6 separate regions of the Homo sapiens genome follow, and regions 1, 3, 4, 5 and 6 are each linked to region 2. Evidence: promoter capture Hi-C in 16 types of primary human blood cells and fetal thymus (Javierre and others, 2016). All regions are on one chromosome and are shown on one strand. The core of a region is centred on a gene start or on the middle of the fragment in contact, and the rest is flanking DNA. Distances in the headings are between cores, read along the strand shown. Region 1 overlaps KCNQ1 (potassium voltage-gated channel subfamily Q member 1). Region 2 holds the start of PHLDA2 (pleckstrin homology like domain family A member 2). Region 3 overlaps KCNQ1 (potassium voltage-gated channel subfamily Q member 1). Region 4 overlaps KCNQ1 (potassium voltage-gated channel subfamily Q member 1). Region 5 overlaps KCNQ1 (potassium voltage-gated channel subfamily Q member 1). Region 6 holds the start of KCNQ1 (potassium voltage-gated channel subfamily Q member 1).

Region 1 (3,174 bases), core at 149-2,648, 410 kb before region 2:
CCCACCCGGACTGGATTTGCTTGGCGGGTCACCTGGATCAACCAGGCCCATTTAGGAGCACCACTCAGGGGCCCTAGTGTGTGCGGCAGGGCAGGTCATGGAGTCTCCAGCCTTCAGCTCGCGTTAGCCCCAGGCCATCTGAGCCGTGGAGCCCACCCAGGCCCGCTGCCTGCACCCCGGGGGAGCCCTCCCACAGCGTCTCGGGCTATGACCCTGGCAGGGTTCCTGCATTCTCCTGTGTTCCCGGGCACCCGGGGCTGAGATGTTGAAATGATGTCGGATAATTCACCGGGTGCCTTCGGGGCTGGTACTCGCCGTCACTGCTCCTGAGGCCTATTTGCTGTCAAGGGGAACAAGTAGGAGGTTGTTTTCTGGGGTGCGGTGGGCTCCCCGCTCATGCAGCTCCCCGCCCCCCGCATGACCACGCCCTCTTGGGAGCTCGGGTGGGACAGCATTCAGGGGACCACATGAGCTGGGGGGGGGTCGGTGTCTTCTCTCCCCCACCCCTTCGCTAGCCTGTCCTGCTTCCCACTCCGAGTCCAAAACACGCATAGGATTCGTCCTCTCCCAGGGCCTTAGTTTCCCGGCTCTGCAGAGTGGGGGGCTGTGACTGCCTGGCCTTGGAGCTGAGGCAGAGGGGGTGGTAGGTGGCCCTGCAGAGGCAGGAGGGGACACAGGCACCCCAGGCCCTGAGTGCCTCAAGGGCAGGGACCCCAGCTCGGCACCTGTGAGGTTCCCAGCTCCGCCCGAGACAAGAATAGATAAAGCGGTAAATAAGATAAAACTCTTTTTATCTGGAGTAGATAAAAGTAAGCTTTGTCATATAATTCCTTCTGAGGCTAGCACGGTATATCAAAATATCGGAAGAATCATTTAGCCTTCAGAATATGGCAAGGCTGACAGCCAGCCTGGCCCATGGGCACCTGTCCCCACCATCTGCCTGGCCTGCGGGGGAACGTTCCTCAGCCCCTGCTGGCTCCCAACCCCCGGGCCTGGAGCCCTGTCTTCTGCCTCAGCCGCGATTCCACTGCACGGGACTTTCCCAGGCACCTCTGCCCAGGTAGTTGGGGTGGACGCCCACTTGGGTGCACACTCTGTGGGGGCTGGTCCAGGACCACCCATGTGCAGTCTTCCCTGGCCACATCCTGTATTCTCCCGCAACGCCCAGTCAAGAATCTTCCTGCTGCAGTAACTCCACATATCTGAGCCAGCTGTGTCTCCTGAGCACAGGACATGGGCAGGAGAGGCCCCTGCAGCTGGAATCCGCGCCATGAAGCCCAGGCGCGTGGTATTTGCAGCCAGTCACCAAGTTTTCAAGCCCTCACCTGCGGCCTGTGAGTGCCCACCCTGCACATGGTGCTAACCAGCATCCATCACTGCTTTCTTTTTTAATTTAATTTAATTTTTTTTTTTTTGTGGTGGAGTCTTGCTCTGTCACCCAGGCTGGAGTGCAGTGGCGCGATCTCGGCTCACTGCAACCTCCACCTCCCTGGTTCAAGCAATCCCCCTGCCTCAATCTCCTGAGTGGCTGGGATTACAGGAGCACACCACCACCCACGCCCAGTTAATTTTTTCATATTTTTAGTAGAGACGGGGTTTCACCATGTTGGCCAGACTGGTCTCGAACTCCTGTCCTCAGGCAATCCTCCCGCCTCGGCCTCCCAAAGTGCTGGGATTGCAGGTGTGAGCCGCCGCGCCCGGCCCCACCACTGCTTTCTATGCTGTGGCCGAGGTCACCAACTGCCACTGTGATGGACGGCTGTCACCCAAACAGCACGAGAATCGAAAAGCCGTGATGGCAGATGCAGAAGGCAGCGTCGCCTGTGGTCTTTTAGAAGGGCAGCTGTGAAGTGGGGTTATCTCAGCTTCCACATTGCATCACGGTGCCCCTGTGAAGGGCAGAGGAGCTGCAGGTAATTCTGTTCGCTCGCCTCTGCCTTGGAGGAAGTTTACAGTTTTTTTTTTTTTTTTTTTTGAAAGTTTAAAGCTTTCAACCTGGGCCTGGAGGCTGCAGGGTCAGCAGACCTGGGTCCTGCCCATGGCCCCCTTCCCTCCTCAGGCCTCCATTTGCTCATCTGAGAGTGGGGGGAGTGCAGCGCCTTCCGTGCAGGTCACTGAGAGGCTGGGGCAGTGGCGTGGATTCGGGTGCATGACTCGCAGACATGGCTGTCGCTTGGCTGAACGGTGGCCCCTGAGGTGTCTGTGTCCTTGTCCTGTGAACAAGTTAGGTTGTGTGGCCAAAGGGGCTTTGCAGGGTGACTGAGGGATGGCTCGTGAGAGGGGAGGTTGTCCTGGGTTACCCGGGTGAGCCCTCACTGTGATTGTGAGGATTCTTCTAAGAGAAGCAGGAGGATCTGAGTTGGAGGAAGAGACGGGAGGATGGAAGCCAGGCTCGGCGACGGGAAAGCTGCTGTGCCACCCTCACCGCAGCCCTATCCCTGCTCACGTGCACCAAGACCAGAGCCTGGCAAGTCGTCTCATACCGAGGGTCAAAGGGGCCCAGGGCCCAGCCTCCAGGGACCCCAGCCATGCCGGGTCAGGGAACCAGGCTGCAGTCCTGTGTCTCCTCCTCAGTTTACCCCAATTGTGACCTCAGAAGCCCTTGGAGCCTCAGTTTCCCTACTTGTAGCATGTGTTTGATGATAGTGTGGCAGTGATGTCACAGTCTGGCAGGGTCTCGTGGGGGTCTGTGTTACTGTCTGCAAAGCACTGGCTGGGCCAGTGGTCAGTGAGCAGGGGCGTGGGTAGCGGGCAGTGGCCTGCAGTCCCCAGGAGCACTTCCTGTTGCTGAACAGACAGCAACTTAGTGGATCCTTCCCAGGGCCCCTGGTGGGTGGTGGGTTTTGCCACATCTTTGCAGTAGACAGCACTGGCAGCTTCCGGCTTATCCAAGGCCTCAGGGTGAAGTCGACGCTCGCTGCTGATTCCCTGCTGGACGTCAGGTGACACTTCCCTCCACAGCCTGGGAAGAAGCACCTGTGGGCCACTTCTTTGTGTTGATAAGGAAACTGAGGCAGGGGAGCTGCCTGGGTCACCAGTGGGCACTGCATCTCCATGTGCAGATGGTGCCCTGGCCCTCTCTGCACGCCGTGGGCCTGGGGAGCAGGCAGGTGGCATCTTCTGCCCCGGGCAGCCCGGCTCTGCTTCCTCGTGGCTGAGCCAGGCTGTGTCTAA
Region 2 (3,003 bases), core at 1-2,500:
CCTCAGGACACACCAAGGAGCAGAAGGTAGCCAGGGTCAAGCCCCAGGGCACTTCCTGGCCTCTGGGGAGGCTGCTTGGAAAAGAGGGTGTGGACCAGGCCCAGCAGATGACACGATTCATTTATTCATTCAAAGCCGGTTCCCAGCGCCTTTCACACCAGCCCCGCAGGACTGGATGAGGGTGTCCTGCCCGCCCATTCCTGGGCCTCCACCCTCCCAGCAGGAGTCTCACTGAGCCACAGCCGGATGGTAGAAAAGCAAACTGGCCAAGTGATTTATTTGCAATGGGCACAGTGATGCAAAAACAAGATATTAAGACTATAAAATATGTGACTACAAAGAACCAGCGAAATAAATACATAGATATTAGATAGTCCAATAACTTAAGGCGCCCGTGCAACGGAGCGAGGATCCGCGCGCACGGGAAGTTCTTCTGCTGCAGGGCTGGAGAGCGCCGGCCACGTCCTAGCCTCGGTCCGACTCGTCCAGCGTATGGCCCTGTGGGGAAAGGACTGGGTCAGAGAGCTGTGCCAGGGCCGGTCCGGGTCCAGCCTGAGGGGCCCCGAGACCCTGACGCGAGGGGGCCAGCGCGATTGCGGGGCGCCGGGTCCCCCAAGGAGGTGCAGCGCCCCCGCCCCGCCGTCTGGGGTTGAAGTGGTTTTTCCCAAAGGCCCCGGTCCCGGCTGTTAGGGCGCAGGGCTCGCCGGGACGCGGGCAGTCACTCACCGCGGCGGGCTCATGGCGTGCGGGGTTTGGGCTGCGGGGATGGCCTGGAGGGCTCCGAGGGCTCGGAGGGTGCGGCGGCCGCGGCAGCCACGGCGTCCTCGGCGGGTGCGGCGGGTGCGGTGCGTTCCTGGCGGCTGCGAAAGTCCTGCAGGGCGCGGCGGTTCTGGAAATCGATGAGCGCCAGCGCGATGGCCGCGTTCCAGCAGCTCTCGCCCGCGCAGCGGAAGTCGATCTCCTTGTGGTCGGTGGTGACGATGGTGAAGTACACGTACTTGCCCGTGCGCTCCACGCAGTCCACCTTGAGGATGGAGTGGAAGCGCAGCTCCTTGGGGCGCGCGCGGGGGCTGGCGGGGAACAGGCTCAGGCGGTCGGAGGTGAGCACCCCGCGCTTCTTCTTCCATAGCTGGAAGAGGCTGTCGCTGCGCTTCTCCAACTCGCCCTCGCGTAGCACCTCGTCGGGGGATTTCATGTCGTGCCGAGCGCGGGACTGGGAGCGGCAATGCGGGCGGTGACGGCGCCGGCTCTGCTCCTCGTGGCCCCGGCGCGGCCTTTATAGCTGCCCCTCCCCGCCCCGCCCCTCCCCGCCCCGCCCCGGCCCTCGGGCCACCCCGCCCGCCTGAGCCCCGCGCGCCCCGGGCCATACCCTCCCCAAGCCCAGCCGTCCGGGCCCGCACCGTCGCGTCCGCGCTCTGGTCGGTCCCCGGCCGTCCCCTCCCATCTCAGAAGCCCGCGCTCCTCTTGCCCCCCGTGCCCCAGCTGTCCGGCCCCGTGGGGTGACTCGAGGTCCCGCCCCGCCCGGGCGCTCGCCCGCACCGTCTCGCAGGCCGGCCCCGCGGAAGAATGCGCTGCAGCCAGCCCTGCCCGCGATGACTCACGCCGGGGAGCCCCGGGAAGCACCCGCGGGCCCGGGGCCGGCCCACCGTGGGGAGACAGCCGGGACCAGACCTTCACCCTCCAGGCGCCCCAAGTCCAGCCCTGCCGCTCTCGGGCTCCCGGGGCAGAAGGAGGGTCGAGGCCCCCTTCCTTACTCCCGAGCCCTGGCCGTTCCGTCCTGTTCGGGGGCCTTTCCCAGGGCCGCCCAGAGACCCTCTCCGAAAGTGGCCCTGCCCTAGCGGACCGAGCTCCTATCTTGCCACCCACGGGCTGCGCCAAGAACGACCACCTCTCTTAGCCTCGGTTTTCGCTTCTGTGAAATGGGAACAGTAACCTTTGCTGGATTAGGGAACACGTGGAAAGGGCTAGACCAGCAACCCATAGAGCTCAGAAAATGGAAGGGGAAGAGGAAGCCCGTTCTCCTCCCTGCGCCCTCGTAGTGTCCCGAACTGGGGTACGGACTGCTCCGACCGCGCCCCCACGACCCGGACCGGAGAGAGGTCCCAGGAGCTGAGGGGTTCGGGCTGGGCCGCGACGCCCGCTCTCTGGGATCAGCCTGGGGGCGAGGGTCGGCGGGGGCGGCTGAGTCATCGCTTTCCAGCTGGGCAGACGGGCGGTTTTATTTACCCTCTTCCTTTAAAGGGTTTAATAGACAGGAAGCGAAAGCCGGCTCTTCCCGGGTTCCCAGGGGTGGGGGTGGAGCCGGCCGAGAGGACCCCAGAGACCCCGGCTACTACTCCACGTCTCCCACCTTCCCGCACCCCTGCCCCCTAGCTGCGCCCTGGGGTGGTTACAGCAGGAAGTCCCAACTCTGGGGTCAGAATTGGCCTCAATGACGGGGCTCACGCAAAATGAAAACGAGAGTCCCCTGATTCAAAATGTATTTAAAATGTCAAGACAGTGGCAGCAGAGCGTAAAACCCAGACCTGGGACCAGCCCTACCTCCACCTGCCCTTCAGGGTCACTGTAAAGGATAAAGAGACGTCCGGCTCAGAGGAGCGCCCCAGACCCGGTTCTGTGAATGGCATGCAGGTAGCAGCTGCCCGGTGGTCCCACCGGTGTGGCCAGAGGACCTGGCAGTGGGCAGGGATGTGGTGTGGAGGGGCAGTGCCGGCAGAGGGCAGGGTTGGGCTGTGCCAGGGTTCTGGCCTGGGAGTGAGACACCTGCCTGGGGCCGGCGGGTCAACACTGCCCCCTACCTGACACCTGTCCTTGCAGCAGGGCTGGGATCCTGTGGTGAGGGAGCAGCAGGTAGGGTGGGTGGGTGAGGGGAGGTCAGCCTTTGGCGGGGAGAGGGGATTCGAGCATTGTTCCGGAGAGGCTGCAGGAAGGATTCGGACTCTGGTGTCCCTTCTTTTGCTTCCAGAGGGCCCTGGGCTGCCGGACAGTGGGACCTGGGCAAGA
Region 3 (3,268 bases), core at 119-2,618, 440 kb before region 2:
CTGTATCCCCTCTTTCTTACAAAAAGGGAAGCACACTATCAATACTCTTGTAGATCTTTAATTGCGGTAAGATACACTAATGCAAAATTTACCATTTTAACTATTTTTAAGCACACAGTTCAGTGGCATGAAGTACATTGATTTTGTTATGCAACCATCACCACCATCCATTTCTAGAATTTTCTCATCCTCCCAAACTGAAACTCCATCCCCATTAAACACCAACTCCCCCATTCTCTCTTCCCCAGCCCCTGGCACCTACCATTTACCTTTCGTCCCTATGGATTTGACTAATCCAGGAACTTCATAAAAGTGGGATCATTGAGTACTCTATTTGTCTTTTGTGACTGGCTTATTTCACTTGGGCATAATGTCCTGAAAGTTCACTCATGCTGTAGCATGTGTCAGAATTTCCTTTTCCTTTTCAAGGCTGAATAATATTCCACTGTATGGATAGACCACATTTTGCTTATCCATTCATCTTTTGATGAACATTTGGGTTGCCTCCATGTTTTAGCTATTGTGAATAATGCTACTATGAATATGGGTGTACAAATATCTTTTCAACGCCCTGCTTTCAATTCTTTTGGGTATATACCCAGAAGTGGAATTTCTGGATTATATGGTAATTATAGTTTTAATTTCTTGAGGAACCACTATGCCGTTTTCCACAGTAGCTACCACATCCTCACCAACACTTGTAATTTCTGGGGTTTTTTAATAGTAGCCATTCTAGTGGGTGTGCAGTGGTATCTCATTATAGTTTTGATTTACATTTTCTTATGAGTAGTGATGTTGAGTATCTTTTCATGCTCTTATTAGCCATTTGTATATCTTCTTTGGAGAATATCTCCTCAGCTCTTTTGCCCACTTCATTAAATTGAGAGGTTTGTTTTTGCTGTTGAGTTTTAGAACTTCTCTATATATTCTGGATATTAATCCCTTATCAGATATAGGATTTGCAAATATTTTCTCTCATTCTGTGGGGTGCCTTTTTACTCCGTTGATAGTGTCTTTGTACAAAAATTTTTAATGTTCACGAAGTCCAAGTTGTCTACTTTTTGTTTTGTTGCCTGTGCCTTTGGTCTTTGTGTTAGTCCATTTAGCATTGCTATAAAGGAATACCTGAGGCTGGTAATTTATAAAGAAAAGAGGTTTAATTGGCTTATGGTTCTGCAGGCTGTACAAGAAACATGGTGCCAGCACCTGCTTCTGGCGAGAGCCTCAGGAAGCTTCCAATCACGGCAGAAGGTGAAGCGGGAGTAGGTGTCTCATATGATGAGACAGGGAGCAAGAGAAAGGAGGTTCCAGTCTCCTTTTAACAACCAGATCTTGCATGAACTCATTACCTAATCATGGGGAATCTGCCCCTATGACCCAAACAGCACCCACCAGGCCCCACCTCCAACGCTGGGGATCACATTTCAACATGAGAGTTGGAGGGGACAAATATCTGAACTCTATCAATGTTATATCCAAGAAATCATAGCCAAATCCAATGTCATGAAGCTTTTGCCCTATGTTTTCTTCTAAGATTTTTATAGTTTTACGTTGCACATTTAGATATTTGATCCATTTTGAGTTAATTTTTGTATATGGTGTGAAGTAAGGGTCCAGCTTCCCTCTTGCATGTGGATTTCCAGTTTTCCCAGCACCATTTGTTGAAAAGACAGTCCTTTTCTCATTGAATAGTCTTGGAACCCTAGTCAAAAATCATTTAACCATTTATGCCACGGTTTATTTCTGGGCTGTCTCATGTTCCATTGGTTTATATGTCTGTCTTTTTGCCTGTGTCACACTGTCTTGATTACTGTAAGTTTATAGTAAAGTTTTGAAATCAGAAAGTGTTAGGCTTCCAGCTTGGCTTTTCTTTTTCAATATTGCTTTTGGCTATTTTAAGTTCCTTGAGATTCCATATGAATTTTAGGATGGGTTTTTCTATTTTTGCAAAAAGTGTCATTGGGATTTTGAGAGGGATTGCACTGAATCTATAAATCACTTTGGGTAGTATTGATATCTCAACATTGTCTTCTAATCCATGAACATGGGATATGTTTCCATTTATTTGCATCTTTTTAAGTTTCTTTCAGTAATGTTTTGTGGGTTTTGCTGCAGAAGTCTTTTACCTCCTTGGTTAAGTTAATTCCTAAGTATTCTACTTGATGCTATTATAAATTAAATTGTTTTCTTAATTTCATTTTTAGATTGTTCATTGTTAGCATATAGAAATGCAACTGATTTTGCATGTTTACCTTAGATTCTGTAACTTTGCTGACTTCATTTATTAGCTCTAATAAGTTTTTGTGGAATCTTTAGGGGTTTCTACATATGAGATTATGTTATCTGTGAATAGAAATAGTTTTACGTCTTTTTTTTCCATTCTGGATGCCTTTTATTTCTTTTAATTTTTTTCTTGCCAAATTGCTCTGGCTAGAATTTTCAGTACAATGTTGAATAGAAGTGGTGAAAGTGGTCACCCTGGCCTTATTCCTGACCTTAGAGGGAAAAATTTCAGTCTCATCATTATGATGTTAGCTGTGGATTTTCACATATGGTTTTTATTATGTTAAGGTAGTTTCCTTCTATTCCTAGTTTGTTGAGAGTTTTTAATAAGGATGTTGAATTTTGTCAAATGCTTTTTGTATCAATTGAGATCATGTGATCATGTGAGTGTTATTTCTTCATTCTGTTAATATGCTCTTTTACATGGATTTATTTTTGTATGTTGAACCATCCTTGCATTCCAGGACTAAATCTCACATGGTCATGATATGTAATACTTTAACTATGTTTCTGAACTCAGTTTGCTATTTTGTTGAGAATTTTGCATCAGTTTTCATAAGGGATATTGGTCTGTAGTTTTCTTGTAGTCTTTGTCTGGCTTTAGTATCAGAGTAATGCTCTCCTCATAGAATGAGTTAGAAACCTTTCCCCTCCTCTTTAATTTTTTGGGAAAGATTGAGAAGGATGGGAGTTTATTCTTTAAATATTTGGTAGGATTCATTGGGGAAGCCATCAGGTCCAGGCTTTTCTTTGTTGAGAGTTTTTTGATTACTGATTCAATCTCCTCACTAGTTATAGGTCCATGAAGATTTTGTATTTCTTTGTGATTTAGTTTTGGTAGGTTTCGTGTTTCTCAGAATTTGTCCATTTCATCTAGGTTATCCAATTTGTTGATACACAATTGTTCACAATACTCTCTTATAATCCTTTTTATTTCTGTAGAATTGATAGTCATGTCCCTATTTTCACTTCTGATTTCAGTAGT
Region 4 (3,221 bases), core at 140-2,639, 380 kb before region 2:
GCACGTGCCAAGACCCGGATGGGGCGTGTGCCTGGCGCGGGTGGAGGGAGCTGTGAGGAGCCTGTAGCATTCAGAGACAGGGGAGCAGGGAGCGGTGGGGGATGAGGTCAGGGAGGTGGCAGGACCTGGCGTGTGAGGGCTTGGGGCGACTCTGGGGAGTTAGGGTTTCGCTCTGCATGACAGGAGCCTGGGGCCTGGCATGGTGTGACTCAGACTTAACGCCGCCCCTCTGACTGGTAGAGGCCAGGCCCAGGATAAGGTGGCGGCAGGCAGGTCTCTAAGCAGTGGCAGCTCAGACCCGAGGTCCCAGGGTCATGCGTGTTTGTCCTGATTGCACGAGTCGTGTGAGCACAGAAACGTAGGTGGAAAGATGGTGGCTTCGTCCAGGGAGGTAGACTGGGAACGTCTTTTGCTGCTTCCCTTGGATTTTGTTTCTCAAAGTCTGAATCAAGCGTGGCAGAAGAAAATACAGCAGAACATGGGATGGGAATATCCATGCGTATAATCGGTCAGGTTAGTTGCTGTATTCTGACTTATTTGAAAGATTTCATAGCGAACAAAGAAAAATTCCGGTATAACTATAATTTTTCCATAGCAGTTTATATTCCCTTTCTCAGCCTTGTAGGTGTAGGTGGAGTGTCCTAAGCTCTGGGGGTGGGGGGACACGTTTACGTGTCTGCAAACCGCTACATTCTGCTAAGACATCTCAGGAGCCCGCCAAGCCCTTAGTGAAAAGTTTCTTAAGGCGGTTTCATAGGTGCGTGTGGGGCTGTTGGATACAGTGACCCACTTCAAGGTGACATCTTCTTCTTGCATCTCAGATAGCACCAGGTTTGTGTGTTTATGCGTGTGCACACACGGTGTTGGGCTCTGGCGGTGGCCTGGGGGTGCTTAGGCTGTGCACAAATGCCCACGCACGTACACACACAGACACACAGCCTGACTTGGCCCAGGTGGGTGGGTGTCTGAGGAGAAGTTCGCCATTGTCGACTTTGGGGTAAAGTGAGGACCTGTCTGGCGGGAATAAAGGGGCCCTACTGTCCCCCGACTACCACTGCCCCAGCCCTCCTGAGCCCCTGTGACTGAAAAATCCTCACTTTGGAGGATGTTTGGTGACAGGTGCTGGGGCCCGGACACGACCTGGTTTCTTCATCCCAGGGGCTGTCTCCAGGGTGGGTTCTAGAGTACATCCAGCTTCCACCCAAGGGAGAGTGGCTGGGTGGAGAGGGGGCAGGCTGAGATCTGAGAAGCCAGGCTAGGGGGTTGTGGAGCAAATGATGATGTCTCAACCATGTGGCTTTAGGTCCCCAGCACGTGCTAGTGGCCATCAGCAGGCTACAGCATCCAGCCAGTGCCACCAGGAGCCCACTGGTGCCAGGATGCTGGGGTGGGGCTATGGGGAAGGAAGACATGTGGGCCAGGGTGCGGGGTGCGGGACAAACCTGGGTCCAGGCACCTGGGGCGACCCTCCTTGGCCGTCCTTGCCATCCTCGCCATCCTCTCTCCACACATCTGACCTTTGCCTGCTTTGGGGGCAGTTTGAGGCCTCAGATTTTCTACCTCAAAGCGATGGAACCCAGAAGACATGGGGCCCTCGAGGAGGGTCCCCCGGGGGCTGCAAAAGCAGAGGGAGTGGAGTGTCACCGGGTGTCCCGGCGTGGGCAGGTCCTGTTGTGGAGCCTCGTGACCTGCTCATAGCACAGCTGGGACACTTCCAGTGACTGCTCTGCGAGGCCCGGGGTAGGGGCGTGGGGGGGCCTCCTCCTCCCAAGCACCTGGGGTGGGAACAAGAGGCGTTTTGTGTTCTGCATGGGTGGCCCTGGGCTCCCCAGGCCTGGTGTGGGGGTGCCTGGGGGGCAGTGGACGTGAGCAGCAGCACGTGGCCCCCAGTCATGAGTACCCCAGGCCCCTATGCGCCTCCTTCCCCATGACTGGCCCTGGGTGGCGGAGAGACCCCTGGGCAGGACACCCCTCCCTGGCTTTTCCTTCTGCACCACTCAATCTGGGGGTTCCGGCTCCTTGCCCACCGCCCCCGCCACCCAGCGCGAGCCGCGTAGAGGAGCAGGAAGGGAGCCAGCTCCACCTCCAGTAGACCCAGAGACGGGGAGGCCAGGGTGCAGGGGACTGTTTGGGCCTCGAGAGGGACGGACCCCAGAACTGGACCCCAATGTGCAGGTCTGGGTGTGGATGTATCTGTATGTCTTTGCGGAGCTCAGATGAGAGATGCTCAGAGTTGTCTGTAGAGAACCAGAGCTGCCGAGCCCCGGCCTGGATGGACATCCCGCAGGCAGTGCACGTCCCTCCCCCGCCTCTCTTTGCCGTTGCCGGGACTGGGCCGTGTGCCTGGAGTTTGAACTTTTCTGATCACGGGGTGAGAGGGTCTTTGCAGTTGCAGAGCCGTGGCGCGGCGCCTGGATTTCCGACACACTGCAGCATCTGCATCCTTGCCGTCACCCCTCACACCCCCTGCTAGGGTCCCTCTGGGGGTTGAATGAAAAGGCATAGGTAGAAGGTGGGAGAAGCCCACGTTCTGGGAGCGTCGCAGTGGCCCAGACACCCATGTTCCTCCCTAGGCAGCTCCATGCGCGGGCCCCGGAGCTGGAAAGCAGCCAAGGGCACTGCCCGCCCTGGGAGCTGATGCCTGACATGCATCCTCGCCTAGGCCAGAGTGCCAGGCAGGGTAGGGGAACAAATGCCAACACGTGAGCTGAGTGACCGGAAGAGGGGGCGCCTCCCTGAGCAGGTGAATGAAGGGTGCTGGGGTGGCGAGTTGAGGGCCAACAGAGATGGTGTCCCGGCTGATGTAGGGTCAGGGGCTTCTGGAAGGAGCCTCACAGGAAGGGCAGGGCAGCACCAGGCTCAGCCCAGGACCAGAGCGCAAATAGGGCTGGAGTCCCGAGTACAAGGCATGGACAGGAGCCAGGCTTCACCTAGCACCTGGCTCCCCGGGGGCCCAGATGGCAGGCGAGGGGTGCCTGGGGAGGCTGCCAAGTGAGGGGGGGGCACAGACTGAGACAGGGTCCCCGTGTTCCATCCATGGGGTACAGCTGCTCCCAGGCCAGACTCTGGTGGTAGCAGGAGGCAGGGGAGGCTGTGCTGAGCTCAGTGGGCTTGGTGGGGTCATAGCTGCCTCTCCCTCTAAATAGATTAACTAAAAAGTATTGTTGACTGACTCATGCATTTCTTAGGTTTTCTTATTTTCTAATTTCTTCTTTTAAATT
Region 5 (2,960 bases), core at 1-2,500, 420 kb before region 2:
CTATTTCTCCCTTCGGTTCTGTAAATTTTTCCTTTGTGTCTTTTGATCGTTAGCTGTTAGAGGCATAAATGTTTATAATGGTTATCTGTAACATCTTCTTGCAGCCTCGAACCTTTAAGTGTGCAGCGTCCTCTTTTGTCTCTTGTGACCTTTCTAGGTTTATTATAAAACCATTTTTGGCTGATGTTAGTGTAGCCACTCTGCTTTTTGTGTTTGCCATTTGCATGGAACCTCTTTCTCCACTCTTTCCACCCTTTCACTTTCAATCTTTTTGTGTCTTTGGCTCTAACGCGAGTCTCTAGTAGACAGCATGTAGCTGGATCATGTTTATCTATTCTGCCACTGCCGATATCACCTTTTGATATACAGACTTTACATTTTCATAAAATTTAATTTGTCCACGTGCTTAGCCCCTGTGATCCAGCAATCCCACTGCTAGTTATATATCCAAAAAGAAAGAAAATCAGTCCAGCAGGGACAGATGCGCACTCCTACGTTTACTGCGGCACTGTTCACCGGAGCCTGTGCCTTCAATGTCGTATTCAAGAAATCATCCTCAAATCCAAAGTCTTTCTATTTTCTCCTATGTGTTCCTATTGCTTTAGGTCTTACATTTATACCTTTGACCCATATTGAGTTAATTTTTTATATCCAGCTTTATTCTTTTGCATGTAGATACTCAGTTATCCCACCATCATTTGTCGAAAAGACTATACGTGAACTTTTTGAATTTGCTTTTCTCACGTAATAGTATTTCCTAGAGACCACTACATATCAGTTCGTGGGGTCCTTCCATATTCTTTTTTACAGCCACCCCATACTTTATGGTTGGATGTGCCATGCTTATTCAAACCCTCTCCTATTTATGGGCATTTAGGTTGTTCTGATATTGTGCAATGATAAATAATGTTGCAAAGTATAGCCTTATACATATGTCTATTGTATTCTTGAAACAATGTTGCAAAGAATAACTTCGTAGGTATGGATGTTCCTATTGTTGGAGGTGTTATCTTCAGGGTAGATTCCTAGAAATGGGAGTGTTGGGCTGAAAGAGAAGCCCGTAGTTTTGTTGGATGTGACCAAATTTCCCTGCAGAACGGTTGCACATTTGCACTCCCCCAGCAATGCATGAGCATACCGGTTTTTTCTACAGTTGCGCCAGCAGCGTGCTGTCACACCACTTTTTGCCAGGTCCATAGCTTTGTTTTAATCTGTATTTCTGTAATTACATTGAATTTGAATGTTTTCCCTGTGTCTAAAAGTCATGTGTGTGTGTATTTGTAAATCGTCTGTCTTCTCATTTCCAACTTCTTCCATTGGGTTTTTGGTTCTTGGTCTCTCAATTTTTAAGTCATTTATATTGTGGGAACGTTTGTCTGGACTAATGTGAATTGTTTTCCCAGCTGGTCACTTGTCTTTGACTTTGCTTATGGTGCTTTTTGCTATGAGAAATTTCGCATGTTTATATCATCAAATTTATCATGCTTCTTTCTACTGACTCCGGATTCAGGGCCACAGTTGAGAGCTTTTTCCTCCACCGAGGTTAAGGGGAATCCACTGTGTTTTCTTCTGGAGGTTTGGGGTCTTGTCTTCAGCATTTAGCTCCTTGTCCGTTTGGAGTTTGCTCTTGTGCATGATCTAAGGTAATCTTTTCTCAGAGAGTGGCCTGAGACCTCTTCCTTAGAAGTTCACCCCACTGGCTGGGGCCTTCACGAGGCCCCTCTGGCCTCTAAGTGGAGCATGGAGTGTGGGGTCATCGGGCAGGACACGAGATGCGCAGGAGGCTGTGACTGAGGTGGCTGTGGGATGGGACGGCGTGGTTTGCTCTAGAGGGTTTGAAGGAAGGGTGAGAAGTCAGGACCACTGCTGTAGAAAACAGGGTTTGCAGGTAGATAAGGTGGCGGGTGCAGCGGGAGGAAGAGAAAAGGATGCTGCTGGGACCCCTCGCACCTGGGAGGATGCACTTTCTGTTTCTGACATGGGTCAGGGTTGGGGCGAAGGAGTCCAGCTGGGGACATGTTATTTTGGAGGTGTTTGTGAGGCAGCCAGGTGAGGTGGGTTGAAGGCAGTAAGACCTGCAGGTGGGAGCTCTGGGGAGAGAGTGCGGGCTGGGCTCACAAGTTAGGGGAGGTGTCAGTGTGTAAATGACATGAGCGCAGGGGCTAGACAGGGCCTCCTGTAGCCTGGGTGGGTGGAAGGGCAGAGGGCAAGGGCCAAGTGATGGCAGCTGTGGAGGCTGAGGGCAAGGAAGGCAAGTCCGGGAGGTTGGGTGTCCTGCAGCCTCCACAGGGGCAATGGAGGAAGAACAAAGGACTCTGTGTTGAGCCCTCCTGAGAGGTTTTGGAACTGGCCTTGACTTGGTGATGTGGGGTTATGAGTTTTATTCCACACACGTATGTGGGAGTCTGGGTCCTGGTGGGTCCCAGCCCCGTACATGGAGGCTGGGACCCTGCCCTGAAACCTCTCAGACACAAACACCCAGCTCGGCCCCACAGAGCTGGCCTGGGCCCCAGCAGGGGTCTGTGTTGCCTTGGCCCCACGGCAGTGGAGCTGGGGTTTCCCAGGGATGCTGCTGCTGAAGGTGAGGTTTGCAAACACTAGGCATGCATGTTTGAGGTACCACAACCTCCACCAACCCATGGTGGTCACCAAGGGTCTTTGGGCTCCTGTGGGGACCATACTGGCTTGTCTGACTTGCCGTTACCCGGCGGAGATATGTCTTGGAAAGACTTTAGGCCAGGAGCCCATCATTGTCCTGGAACCTGGGCTTGGCAGGGCAAGCTTTGGGGAGCACTGTCCAGACAGTGCCCTGGACACTGCACCTCAGGTCAGGACACAGCTCCCGAGGCCTGGCTGCTCTGCATGGGGAGGAGTGTGGGTCCTGAGTGGAGTGTCCCATCTGTCATGCAGAGAGGGTGATGATATAACCAGCTGGGTGTTCGCACCTGAGAGGTTTCGGG
Region 6 (3,005 bases), core at 199-2,698, 480 kb before region 2:
TGTGTGGCACCTCACTAGGGTGGGGAGTCAGGCGTCAAGGGCCTGGGCTGGACTCCGTCCACGATAAAAGAGCAGACTTTTGGCAGGGGGTGGTAGATACATCAAATTGACCCAGGGTGCTCAGGGACGACCTGGAAGTGTCACATGAGTTATGGGTCTCCTGGCGGGGCGGAGAGTCACCGCTGAGCTCCACCTTTAGTCCCTGCCTCAGGGCTGTGTGCAGTATCCTGAAAAAAGCCGGTCTCTTCTGTTGGCTGCCCCCCACCCCCCCCCCAAGCCTGAGACGTGCTGAGACCCAAATGCCAGTAGCGGGCGGGAGGCAGTGCAGAGACCTGTGAAAATCTTCCGATGTGACCAACCCACCCCCACCCAGGGGAATCCACGGGGCGCAGCGGCAGCGCGGTCTCGACGGTGGGGAGGACAAGGCGCCCATTCTCCAAGTTACTAGGGTGGCGCAAGCGCCTCTCCCTTTAACTGCCCAGGCAGCCCCGCCTGCTATGCCCGGCAGTCAAACCAGGTCCAGACCCCGGCTGTGCCGCCCCCACCCCCCAGCAGCCCTGCCGGCTCCCCACCCACACAGCTCCCACTGGGAGGTACCTGACAGTGGTGGTCCCATCTCACCCTCCCGGTCCAAGGGCCCTGGTGGGAAGCGACCCGAGCGTATTCGCCGCCCGCAGCTCGCGCGCCTGGGCACCCGGGGGCGCTCACAGTGATCGCGGGGCCAGCACACCCTCACCCAGGACATCCCTTTCCTCCCCCCAACCCCAACTCCGGAGTGGCTCAGAGGGAGGGAAAGTAGATGCCGGCACCCTACCCCGCCCCTCCTGCCCCCGCTGTGCCGTTCTCGGTCGTGGTATCGGCCAGGCCTTACCCCTTCCTCCCTGGCGCAGCTGGGGTCCTCCTCCGGGCCAGGCAGAGCAGGCGGGCATCAGAAGTGGGGGCCAAGCAGGTGGGTGAGGGCAGGGCAGGAGCAAGCAGGGGAGATGCAGACGGGGCGGGGCCAAGCAGGTGGGTGAGGGCGGGGCCAAGCAGGTGGGCGGGGAGGGGGCGGGGCCAGGCGGGGTAAATGCACACTGGAACGGGGCCAAACAGGTGGGCGAGGAGGGGGCGGGGCCAAGCGGGATAGATGACACGAGCGGGGCTAAGCAGGTGGGCTCGGGCGGGGGTGGGGGTGGGGGCGGGGGCGCAGGCGGGGGCGGGGGCGCGGACAGGCCAAGCCAGGGGGTGAGGCGGAGGCAGGGCCAGGCCGGTCCGTGGGGAGAGGGCGGGCCAAGCCGGTGGGCGCGGGCAGGGACGCCCTGTGCGCGCCGGACCGGCGGGGGCGGGGCGTGCAGGCGGGGGCGGGGCACGCCGTCCCATGGGACCGGCCCTCGGCCACTGCCCCCTCCGGCCCCGCCCCGAGCGCCCGGGCTGGGCCGGCAGCGGCCCCCCGCGGCGGGGCTGGCAGCAGTGGCTGCCCGCACTGCGCCCGGGCGCTCGCCTTCGCTGCAGCTCCCGGTGCCGCCGCTCGGGCCGGCCCCCCGGCAGGCCCTCCTCGTTATGGCCGCGGCCTCCTCCCCGCCCAGGGCCGAGAGGAAGCGCTGGGGTTGGGGCCGCCTGCCAGGCGCCCGGCGGGGCAGCGCGGGCCTGGCCAAGAAGTGCCCCTTCTCGCTGGAGCTGGCGGAGGGCGGCCCGGCGGGCGGCGCGCTCTACGCGCCCATCGCGCCCGGCGCCCCAGGTCCCGCGCCCCCTGCGTCCCCGGCCGCGCCCGCCGCGCCCCCAGTTGCCTCCGACCTTGGCCCGCGGCCGCCGGTGAGCCTAGACCCGCGCGTCTCCATCTACAGCACGCGCCGCCCGGTGTTGGCGCGCACCCACGTCCAGGGCCGCGTCTACAACTTCCTCGAGCGTCCCACCGGCTGGAAATGCTTCGTTTACCACTTCGCCGTGTGAGTATCGCCACCGGCGACGGCCGGCACGAAGGTGCTTCCTGAGAGCTGGTGTGGGGGAGCTCTGTCCCAGCGCCACCTGCCCCGTCGGAGCTGCGACCCCGGAGCAGAGGAGGGAAGGAAGTGGGGAAACGCAGAAACACAAACTCTGCACTCTCCCTTGAAGTTCAGAGGCGCTGCTGTGTCTGGGGGTGCGCATCTTCTCGCAGGCCCGGCGTGGGGAGGGAGCCGGCTGGGGAGGGGACCACCTGGAGCCCAGAATTTGGCTCCACACCTCCGGGAGGGTAGTCCAGGTGTGAATCCTTCTGGGAAGAGAAGCGTGCTGGGGAGCGCACCCTTGGGTGCAGTAAGATAACTCCTCAAGGTCGGCTGAGACTCGAGGCTCAGGAGCCCCCAAGAGAGAAGGCCCCTGATGTCCGGTGCCGCATCTCAGACCCCCTGAGGCCCAGGTGGACTCTGGGGCAGGGGGCTGTCCAGGATAGGAAGGTGACGGTGGCGGTGCTCCCTGAGGGCTCAGCATGCCACGGGCCGTCCCCACGGGCCCCACATTAACTAATTGAACCAAGCTCATGAAAACCTGGCTTGATGCAGAGAGCGGAGAGGCACGTTTGCAGCTCTCACTAAGAGGCAGCTGTGCTCCCGGAGAAAGCAGCGCTGGTAGCAGAGGCACCTGGCCCCCCTGTTACCAGGTGGTTCCAATTCCCGGTACAGCGTGCCTGAGCAGGGCTGGGCACTGGATTTCTCAGGGACAGGCCTGGGAAGTCACCTCCGGGAAGGTCCAGGCTGCTCTCCTCCATGCCTGCCTGGGGCCTTCCCCCGCTGCCCCAGTGGCCCTACTTCCTGGCTGCCCAGCCAGCGGCCTTTTGGTGTGGTGCCAGCCTCTGGCCTGGGAGCCTCTACCCAGACATCCCATGGCTGATGGCTGTGGGGCTCACCTGAGGGCTGAAGGGTGGTCTCCCTGAGCGTCCTCAGGTGGAAGCATCTCCTCTGCCTCGGGCAGGCTCAGTAGAGAACTGGCTGGAGGGCATCCAGAGGCCTGTCCATGCCTGCTGGCAGCTGCCACCAGGGCCTCAGGGCGGG

Evidence for each region. The method cuts DNA at HindIII sites, captures the fragments that hold promoters and counts their contacts. A CHiCAGO score of 5 or more calls a contact.
Region 1: a fragment that was not itself captured here is called in contact with the fragment with the promoter of PHLDA2 in region 2 in 9 of 17 cell types (monocytes, total CD8 T cells, naive CD8 T cells and 6 more); the score reaches 10.0 in monocytes.
Region 3: a contact is called between a fragment that was not itself captured here and the fragment with the promoter of PHLDA2 in region 2, in 7 of 17 cell types (total CD4 T cells, naive B cells, naive CD4 T cells and 4 more). The highest score is 7.1, in total CD4 T cells.
Region 4: a contact is called between a fragment that was not itself captured here and the fragment with the promoter of PHLDA2 in region 2, in 16 of 17 cell types (naive CD8 T cells, naive CD4 T cells, fetal thymus and 13 more). The highest score is 14.2, in naive CD8 T cells.
Region 5: a contact is called between a fragment that was not itself captured here and the fragment with the promoter of PHLDA2 in region 2, in 8 of 17 cell types (fetal thymus, total CD8 T cells, naive CD8 T cells and 5 more). The highest score is 7.9, in fetal thymus.
Region 6: the fragment with the promoter of KCNQ1 here is called in contact with the fragment with the promoter of PHLDA2 in region 2 in 6 of 17 cell types (neutrophils, non-activated CD4 T cells, naive CD4 T cells and 3 more); the score reaches 7.6 in neutrophils.

Annotation. Positions count from the first base shown.
Region 1 is chr11:2,521,797-2,524,970 of GRCh38, forward strand. The region is part of intron 1 of KCNQ1 (potassium voltage-gated channel subfamily Q member 1); the gene reads left to right. Among named protein-coding and RNA genes, the nearest start is that of KCNQ1, 78 kb to the left of the region's middle. The HindIII fragment of the contact is 1,173 bases long and covers 813-1,985 here.
Region 2 is chr11:2,928,170-2,931,172 of GRCh38, forward strand. PHLDA2 (pleckstrin homology like domain family A member 2) reads right to left here and starts at 1,251. Exons shown (of 2, transcript NM_003311.4): 1 at 727-1,251; 2 at 104-498. The coding sequence starts at 1,195. The coding sequence ends at 737. RefSeq lists enhancers at 528-1,136, 1,137-1,746, 1,747-2,355. The HindIII fragment of the contact is 14,179 bases long and covers 1-3,003 here.
Region 3 is chr11:2,485,459-2,488,726 of GRCh38, forward strand. The region is part of intron 1 of KCNQ1 (potassium voltage-gated channel subfamily Q member 1); the gene reads left to right. Among named protein-coding and RNA genes, the nearest start is that of KCNQ1, 42 kb to the left of the region's middle. The HindIII fragment of the contact is 277 bases long and covers 1,231-1,507 here.
Region 4 is chr11:2,547,887-2,551,107 of GRCh38, forward strand. The region is part of intron 2 of KCNQ1 (potassium voltage-gated channel subfamily Q member 1); the gene reads left to right. Among named protein-coding and RNA genes, the nearest start is that of KCNQ1, 100 kb to the left of the region's middle. The HindIII fragment of the contact is 5,009 bases long and covers 1-3,221 here.
Region 5 is chr11:2,505,593-2,508,552 of GRCh38, forward strand. All of the region lies in intron 1 of KCNQ1 (potassium voltage-gated channel subfamily Q member 1), which reads left to right. Among named protein-coding and RNA genes, the nearest start is that of KCNQ1, 62 kb to the left of the region's middle. The HindIII fragment of the contact is 3,057 bases long and covers 1-2,779 here.
Region 6 is chr11:2,443,560-2,446,564 of GRCh38, forward strand. KCNQ1 (potassium voltage-gated channel subfamily Q member 1) reads left to right here and starts at 1,449. Exons shown (of 16, transcript NM_000218.3): 1 at 1,449-1,925. The coding sequence starts at 1,540. TRPM5 (transient receptor potential cation channel subfamily M member 5) reads right to left here and starts at 955. Exons shown (of 29, transcript NM_014555.4): 1 at 872-955. RefSeq lists silencers at 1,249-1,358, 1,369-1,438. The HindIII fragment of the contact is 13,739 bases long and covers 1-3,005 here.